Regions from separate parts of the Homo sapiens genome. Here region 2 is linked to region 1. Evidence: promoter capture Hi-C in human tissues and cell types (Jung and others, 2019). All regions are on one chromosome and are shown on one strand. Each heading gives the region's core, a stretch centred on a gene start or on the middle of the fragment in contact. The rest is flanking DNA. Distances are from core to core; before and after follow the strand shown. Region 1 holds the start of RCE1 (Ras converting CAAX endopeptidase 1). Region 2 holds the start of C11orf24 (chromosome 11 open reading frame 24).

Region 1 (4,358 bases), core at 1,554-4,053:
GTCCCTGGGACGCAACTAGCTCTGGCTTCAATCCCCTACAAAAATTCCTGAGATCTCGGGGACCCCAGCCAGCCCTTCCCCTGCAGTACCCCTTGGTGGGGAGGGCTGGGGAGCCGGTGAGAGTTCATAGCGTATCCAGGAGCATAGGTCAGGAGCACAGGGGAGCCTCTGAGTCCCCTGCCCGCTCCAAAAGCACACAAAGGGGAAGGCTGCCGTAGAGCTTGGGGTCCGTGAGGGGCTGGAGCAGAAGCAGGAAGAGTCCCACACCCAGGGCATAGCCTGCCAGCAGGGGCCGCCTCTGTGGGTGCTCCAAGGCCGCGCAAACAGCTGGGAAACCCATGTAATTGCAGAAGGAATGGCAGAGAACCGGCCCAATCAGGTGTCCTGGGGAAAAGAGACAGCAGCTCAGGGAGCAGCCCTACCACCTCCTCTGGCCCTTCCAGGGCTAGTGACCCTCATCCCCTGAAACAGGAGATCAAGATCCCACTACCCCAGCCATCCACCCACACACCACGGCCTCTGCTCCTTTCCACCTCTCAGACCTCACCAGGCTGAGGGCTCTGGCTCAGCCTGTCTCAAGGACTGGAGTAGAAGAACTTTTGTTCCTAGAACAAACAGTATTCCCATTCTCCCACCCGCTCCTGTGGGCCCCCAGGGACCCATGAGGGACTGAGGACCAACCTGTGCGGATGAAGAGGAAAGCAGTGTAGGCACCGAAGACAGCTGTGTAGGAGAACTGGAACGCTGGAGACGGGGAGGCCACGAGTGACCACACCTGCACGCCCTTCCTGCCCCCACACTACATACCCATCAGCCAAAGACCGACCATCCCCTCCCCCCGGGGCAGTAGCTGCCTGCCCCACCACCTACAGCTGTCCTGCACCCCAACTTCCCACGGTCAGTGGCCTCTCCAATACTGTGGCCCTCAGTTCCCAATTCCTTCTCCAGAGTGGCCATTAGCGACATCATCATACACCCTAACCCAGGCCAGCTAGCCAGGACTCACCAGCAGACAAGAAGATGTTCCCCACGCTGCTCTGGCGGAAACGCAGCTGCTCAATAATATGGTGAAAATGGGCTGGGAAAAAGGTGACAATCACATCACAGTCATTCCTCCCAGCCTCCCTTCTAGGACTGCCCCTCACCTCAAGCCCCCTTCTGAGCTCTCATGCTGAAAACACACCAGGACTAATCTGGCCAGACTCACCAACTCCAAAAAAGAGCGGGCAGGTGAACACAGCAGGGCCCAGGCCCATGCACGGTGCTAACATGGGCAGCATACAGGCCCGGAACACCAGCTCCTCTGTCAGCGGGGCGATCACTTGGTTCCGCAGCCAACGCATGTCTGTGAGGCAGCGGGCCCAGGAGCGGGGGGCTGCAGAGGGAATTCAGGACAAGCTGTGAGTGACGGGCTGTCAGACAGTGAGACCCCAGAGGCTCCAAGGGCTCCTCTCCCACAACTTTACCCTGGCCAAACTCAGGTTAGGCATCAATACTGCTGAGGACGGGGGTGTGGACCCAACATAAACCCAATGTCTTGAGATGACCTGAATGGAAGGCATTAGCTGAGGCAAGGGCATCCTGGAAGTAAACTCTGGAGACACCAAAATTTAAGCAAGACTAGCTCTGGTTGGGGAAGCAGGGGACAGTGCTCTCTGATCCACACCAAATACTGCTGGGGGTTCCCAGGGAACTCCTTGGACGTTGGCAATCAACCCTTAGAGGCCACCTAGCTCTATGTTTCCATTTTACTGATGAGAAAACACACCCAGAGAGATGACATTTCACGTGTCCAGATCACACCCTGAGCCCGCTGACTCCCTGCCCCAATGTCCTGGACTGCCTGTGCCTACTTTTCCCTTCAGCCTTTAAGACTCACCCAGGACAACCTTCAGCCCATCTGCCAGGTCACAAGGGCAATCCATAGAGAGCTGCATCAGTGGGCCCAGGAAAAGAATCTGAGGGCAAGAAAACACTTTCACCATAACCCACCGCTTTTGCCCAGACCTTTGCCCATGCTCCCTGAGACTCCAAGCTTGAAATCCTCTCCAGCCACGATTTCCAGACCATGCATACCGGAGGACCCTGGGGCCATCTCAAAAGTCCTGTCTCCCATCAACCAAAAACCAAAAACAAGAGTCCACGGCACTGCCCATCAGGCTGATAACAAAGACCAGAAGAAAAAATACAGCAGGAGCACTCACCATGGTCAGCAACAGGGGCAGCAGCGCCGCTGGGAAAATGCCCTCCAGCCTGAAGCCCATCAGGGTGAGCAGGGATGTGCCTGGCTGAGCCACAGGAAAGGGGGCATCAGTTTTGCTTCCTCCCCTAAAGACCCCTGAGCTCTCACCGCCGTTGCCCTTTGCCCCGCCTCCTTCGCACCTGGATGCCTGTGAGTTCCCTCCAGAGCAGCACGCACAGGGGTGAGAGACTGGACACCACCAGGACGCTGGTGAAGCGTCGCTTGATGACCGCGGGATGGTCCCTACGGAGGGGACAGTAAGTTCAGGGGGCCCGCGGCTGCCCATGAGCACGGACCCGCCCCCGGCTCGCCCAAGCTCCGCCCGCAGGGCGCGGATTCCGGTCGCGCGCAGCCCCCGCACCTGGGCAGTTCGCTCTTCCAGACGTAGAGGCTGCCCACGTAGGAGCAGGCGAGGCTGAGGCAGGAGAACACTGACACCCAGCAGCACAGCCCGGGGCCCAGGCCGCCCAGCGCCGCCGACTCGGGCGGCCGCTCCGGCCGCGACACCGACAGCAGTCGCAGCCCATCCCCGCCCAGCGCCGCCATTGCGCCCTGACCCGCGGCGCGCACCAGTGACGCAGTCCCAGGGAGGTGTGGGTGACGTCAGGCCGCGGCGCGGCTCCACGCCCCGCCCCGCCCCGCCCGGGCCCGACGCGGAAGCAGACGCGGAAGAGGACTTGGTGAGCGCGCGGCAGCTTTATTAAACCACGGGATAACGGCTGCCCGCAGCCTCCGGATCGGTGGGCGCTTGCGGAAGGGGACCCGGCTCAGGGCCCAGGGCTGGGACTCAGCCACTCTGACAGGTTGGAGACCTCCTGCAGCCACAGCACGTCCTGCGGGAACAAGGGGGCCCGGGGTGAGGACCTCTCAGCAGCGGCCCGTGGCCTGCACCTCCTGCTGAGCCCTTCCCTGCGCGGCCCTCGCCCAGTTACCTCCAGGCGGCTTCCGAGGCTCGCCCTGCCCGGCGCCAGGGCCCTGCCGTGAGCCTCGCGGTGCTCCCTTCCTCTAGGAGTGAGGGGGGCCGCGGTGGCTTCCGGGCGGCGCGGGGCGGCCTCTGACGGGCTCGGGGCCCTGGCAGAGCGCAGAGCTCGCATCTCCTCTATGCGGGGGCTGCCCCTCTTGAGCCTCTTGTTTTCTGCTTGCCCGCTGGTATCTAGGAGAAAAACAAGCCTCTTCATCTTACTTTCATGGCCCTGTGCTAGGAGCACCCTTGGCCAAGGGGAAGCCTGGGAGAACGGGCGCCGAGGGGCTCTTCCCACCGCATCCCTGTCAGCAGGTCCCATCCACACCAAAACCCTGCAGCTGTGGGCGCTTCTGGAGCAGCCCGAGGCTGCAGAGACGTTTCAGGGTCTCCCTATTCTCTCACCCAGGCGGGAGATTGTCCCGAGCCCTCACTTGGGGGACTCAGGCCGCTCAGTAACTTTCTGTATAGATTCTTCCTGGAGTCTGCACTGACAAGCTCCCCTCCCTGCCAGCCTCTGTCCCCCCTCACCTTTCTGGCCTCAGTTCTGTCTCCCTTTGTTGCTCACGTTGCATTGAGCAGTGCCCATAGGCAGCTTTCCTACTCTTAACTGATTCATTTGTCAAATTAAAGCGAGTTTAGATGGATAGATTCTTCCCCAGCAGGTCTTGGGGATGCAGATCAATGAGCTTTTCCCTGAGAGAAGCTCACAGATGCTAGGAGGGGATGCAGACCTGTGTACAAAGCCCAGGGTTAGAATAGAGAAGGAAGCCGACCACCTCTGGATGTGAAGAAGGGTTTCCATGAGGAGATACCTGAGCTGACCTTTTGTTTTTTTGAGACAAGGTCTTGCTCTGTTGCCCAGGCTGGAGTGCAGTGGCTCAGTCCTGGCTCACTGCAGCCTCGACCTCCTGGGCTCAAGCGATCCTACTGCCTCAGCTTCAGCTTCCAGAGTACCAGGAACCACAGGCGCATGCCACCACACCGGCTAATTTTTTTTACTTGTAGAGACAGGGGTCTCACCGTGTTGCCCAGGCTAGTCTCAAGCTGTCCTCCCGCCCCAGCTCCCCAAAGTGACGGTATTACAGGCATAAGTCACCACTCCTGCCCCAGAGCTGGGTTTTGAAGGATGAAGAGTGATATGCCAGACAAGGG
Region 2 (4,258 bases), core at 1,443-3,942, 1.4 Mb before region 1:
GATCTGTGCCTGGAAACAAAAGGTAGAGGATGTAAGTGTATCATTCTCTATTTTATCCACAGCCCTCAGAAGCAGCTGGTCTGCCTGGCTTTACTCTCCATAACACTCCACAGAACAGTTTTGCAGTTCCCAGAGCTGTGCCTTCAATGGACACTAGGTTTCAGGTGACCAAAGATGCTATCAGAGAATATGACTTTCTCATAGGAGAGAATGAGTTTCCCGGTATGTTGGACCATCTCAGCCAGATATTTCTGTGTCAGAAACCCATCAGTAACACTCTAGACTGGAGATCAGCAAATAGATTCTGTAAAGGGCCAGAGAGTAAATATTTTAGGACTTGTGAGCCATATAGTCTCTACAACTAGTCGACTGTGCCCTTTTATCATCAGATAATACCTAATGAAGAGGCATGACTCTGTTCCAATAGAAATTTAAGAAAGCAGATGGGCTGGGCGCGGTGGCTCACGCCTGTAATCCCAACACTTTGGGAGTCCAAGGCGGGCGGATCACTAGGTCAGGAGATCAAGACCATCCTGGCTAACATGGTGAAACCCCGTCTCTACTAAAAATACAAAAAATTAGCTGGGCGTGGTGGCGGGCGCCTGTAGTCCCAGCTACTCGGGAGGCTGAGGCAGAAGAACGGCGTGAACCCGTGAGGCGGGGCTTACAGTGAGCCGAGATGGCGCCACTGCACTCCAGCCTGGGCGACAGAGCAAGACTCCGTGTCTAAAAAAAAAAAAAAAAAGCAAGCAGATGGAGGTCTAGCTGCCCAGCTGCTCTAGAGGAGAGGCTGTGTCTTATGTTTGTAATTTCAGCCCCAGCAGTAAAAATTGTCCCTATGTTGCCAAAGAGGAAATGAAAACAGAGTCACAGTCATTGATTTTTTTTTTTTTTTTTTTTTTTTTTTTTAGAAGGAGTCTCGCTCTGTCGCCCAGGCTGGAGTGCAGTGGTGAGATCTCGGCTCACTGAAGCCTCCCCCTCCCAAGTTCAAGCAATTTTCCTGTCTCAGACTCCCGAGTAGCTGGGAATACAGGCACACGCCACCACGCCTGGCTAATTTTTATATTTTTAGTAGAGACGGGTTTCACCATATCGGTCAGGCTGGTCTCAAACTCCTGACCTCAGGTGATCCGCCCGCCTTGGCCTCCCAAAATGTTGGGATTACAGGCGTGAGCCACCGCGCCCAGCCCAGTCATTGATTTTTGAAAAGGGCAGGCAAAGAACTAAAATCTGCCTGCCGATTGTATATTTTCACTTCTGGAGTGAGCCTCAATACTGTACTTCATGTTAGATCCGAACTAGTTGGAAAAATTAAAGCAAATACATAGTGAAAGGATCTGATCTTCACATGATCCAACCGGCGTTGGGTCTCAGCAAACCCAACTTTGCAGGTTAAATTCCACACATGAACTGTGGTTGAACTGGGGATGGTGGTGGTGACATCAAATCGCATTTCAGGTGCTCCCAGAGCTCGGAGTGGATGGTAGATCCTGTCTTTGCCCAATCTCAGCTTTCTGTGTCTCTTAGCTTCCTAGCCGAAGACCCCAAGGCAGGTTATAAAACTGGAAATAAAGTCTTGGTTTGCTCCTGTGAAATCATCCTTCGCAGACAGGTTTTGGTTTGGACCGGGGGATGCCTGAGGGTCTTATACAGACTGGGATTCAGTCACAGAACTACTAACTTGCAAAGCCTATTTCTTTCTTTCTTTTTTTTTTTTGGAGACAGAGTCTCGCTCTGTCGCCCAGGCTGGAGTGCAGTGGCACGATCTCTGCTCACTTCAACCTCCACCTCCCAGGTTCAAGCAATTCTCCTGCCTCAGCCTCCCGAGTAGCTGGGACTACAGGCGCACGCCACCACGCCCGGCTAATTTTTTGTATTTTAGTAGACACAGGGTTTCACCATGTTGCCCAGGCTGGTCTCGAACTCCTGAGCTCAGATAATCCGCCCGTCTCGGCCTCCCAAAGTGCTAGGATTACAGGCAAGAGCCACCGCGCCTGGCCTGCAAAGCCTATTTCTAACCAAAGTCAAGTCCCACACACTTGCCTCTAAATTGCGTTTTGCTCCTTTGTTATCCCAGGTTTTACAATTACAGAGCACTTGATGAGCCTGTTTCCACGTCTGTAAAATGAGGCGAAGTTCTTCACTGTGCTATTGCAGAATTAAGCCACTGGCTCTATAGGCAAAGTGCTTAGCACGGGCGTGGCACGCTGCGGGTGCACAGAAACGCTCGCTGCCACCCCACCCTTAACTACCGGGCACCCCAGCGCCCCGCCAGGGGCTGAAGAAACGTGGGAGGAAGCGGAGGAACGCGAAGGGCGTGTGCCCGCGAAAGGTCTCACGAGGCGTTTCGAGGTCGCCTCTTCAGGCTCGGCTGCCGACAAGGTGCCTCTGAGCTCACCCAGCCCAACCCGCGCACCCCGGGACCCCAAGACGGCAGCGGGCACAGCTGGGCAGCAGAGACCCGGGAACACCCACTTCCGCCACAGACCTGCTCAAAATAGCTCCTTCTGGCAGCGCGCAAGAAGTGGCCCGAGCCGGCCCCGGGGAGGCGGGGCCTGAGAGCAGACAACCCCCCCACTTCCGGCTCGCCTCCGTTCGCCACAGGCCCCGCCGCAGCCGCTCTTCGCCCCGGCCAGCAGGCCCGCCCCGCCCTCCGTGACGTCATTTCCGGCGTTTGGGCGGGGCCCGGGCAGGGCGCGCTGCCCGGAGCTGCCTGGGTTGCGCTGCCGGCCACGTCCCCGCGCCGGGCCTCAGGCTCCTTCCTACTGTCCGAGGGCCACCAGGCCGCCGGGGGCCTGCTGCGCCCGGGTAAGGGGCTCGCACTGCCGTCCGGGTAGCTGCTGTCAGGGCTCCCTGACTGGCTTGGGACTGAGAGACAGAGGTTGGGGGGCAGGAGGAGGGTTGGATGGGGGCACGAGGGGCAGTGGGAGAGTGAGTGGGGCTGAGAGAGGCAGGAGGAACGGGACAGGAGGAGCGGCGGATGGGGCACGCACAGAGTGCAAGACGCTGAGCAATGCAGGTACTGAAGAAGTCAACTGGGGGCCGAGCATGGCTGGGGGCCCAAGAGACAGGAGGAGGGAGGAGGGCCGAAGGGGGCCCAGACTGGAGAAGAGGCCGGCTTGTCCCATTGTGGGAGCAGAATGGGGACACTCTGGAAGGGGGCCGAATTTGTCCTGGGGTCTTTCCCGGGCAAGCCCAGGACGGGACTGGACCCCAAGAAGTGTCGCTCTTACTTGAGTGACACAGACCTATCCCCCAGACCCTCTCTCTACCTGGGTGGAGGTTGTGCATTGCCCCAGATTCCCTCCCCTGCCCATCTGTCTCCCTGCCTGCTTCCCCCGTGCGAGTCACTTAGTAGCCCCCGTGTGGCTGCTTAGCATGTTGACTTAATCGTTAGGCTGATAGGAGGAATCGGCCTCCACACGCATGGTTTGCCACCAGAAATAATCATCGTGCTTAGAAATCTGACTGTAATAACTTGCAGCTATCCCTCGCCCCAGGAAAATCTCTAACATTTCGATAAAATCAGCTAGGAAAATCTTTAAAATACAGATGTTTCCATTTATACAGTGGATCTGCCTAATGGACAAAGGAATGTCAGAGCTACCCACGTTCTTAGCAAAAACTAGGCCCTAGTATTTAGCTGTGTTACCAAAACTTCCAGAAACCTGGAAGCAAGCAAGGTAGTTAATGTAATATAATAAATGTCCAATGTTCTAGGTTCCCGTCTGCCACAGAGTCACATCCTTTGGACTACAGGACAATGTCTATATACACAAAGCCATAAGTCTGTGTTCCTTGGGCTTCTGCTACCAAAGTTCAGCCAGGTGACGTGTCAGGATTAGGTACCTGCAGTTTGCCCTGTATTTGTGTTTGCAGTTCCTACTCCTTGGTATCTGTAGCTTGCCTAACTTGGTGTGGGGGCCTGGCCATGTTGCGGCTGAGTGAGTCTTAATAGCCTGATAGAATGTGGGGGTAACAGCTGTAGTCCTTTACCAAGCTTCAGGATTGGTCTTTGGAACCTCTCTATGCCAGAAAAAAAGAATTAAGTTATTTCTTTCCCTTTTTTTTTTTTTTTAAGAGATGGGGTCTCACTATGTTGCCCAGGCTGAACTCAAACTTCTGGGCTTGTAATCCTCCCACCTCAGCCTCCTGAGTGTCTGGGATTACAGGCATGCAGCACCACGCCTGGAGTCCAGTTTTGTGTAACTTGCATAAAGTGCGCCACATATAACAAGCCAAGGTTCGGAACACAAGA

The links. The method cuts DNA at HindIII sites, captures the fragments that hold promoters and counts their contacts. A contact is called where the count stands out against the background at its distance.
Region 2: a contact is called between the fragment with the promoter of C11orf24 here and the fragment with the promoter of RCE1 in region 1, in 1 of the 25 tissues and cell types used here (spleen).

Annotation. Positions count from the first base shown.
Region 1 is chr11:66,841,886-66,846,243 of GRCh38, reverse strand. RCE1 (Ras converting CAAX endopeptidase 1) reads right to left here and starts at 2,803. Exons shown (of 8, transcript NM_005133.3): 1 at 2,604-2,803; 2 at 2,383-2,485; 3 at 2,205-2,288; 4 at 1,880-1,958; 5 at 1,208-1,375; 6 at 1,007-1,078; 7 at 682-744; 8 at 1-384. The coding sequence starts at 2,788. The coding sequence ends at 149. TOP6BL (TOP6B like initiator of meiotic double strand breaks) reads right to left here. Exons shown (of 15, transcript NM_001302084.2): 14 at 3,175-3,395; 15 at 2,728-3,075. The coding sequence ends at 3,010. RefSeq lists an enhancer at 2,226-2,932 and silencers at 2,573-3,012, 3,123-3,262. The HindIII fragment of the contact is 26,172 bases long and covers 1-4,358 here.
Region 2 is chr11:68,270,407-68,274,664 of GRCh38, reverse strand. C11orf24 (chromosome 11 open reading frame 24) reads left to right here and starts at 2,692. Exons shown (of 4, transcript NM_022338.4): 1 at 2,692-2,808. It overlaps LOC105369363 (a long non-coding RNA gene), which reads right to left and starts at 2,563. Exons shown (of 3, transcript XR_950248.3): 1 at 2,489-2,563. RefSeq lists silencers at 556-615, 2,495-2,894 and an enhancer at 1,729-2,583. The HindIII fragment of the contact is 13,528 bases long and covers 1-4,258 here.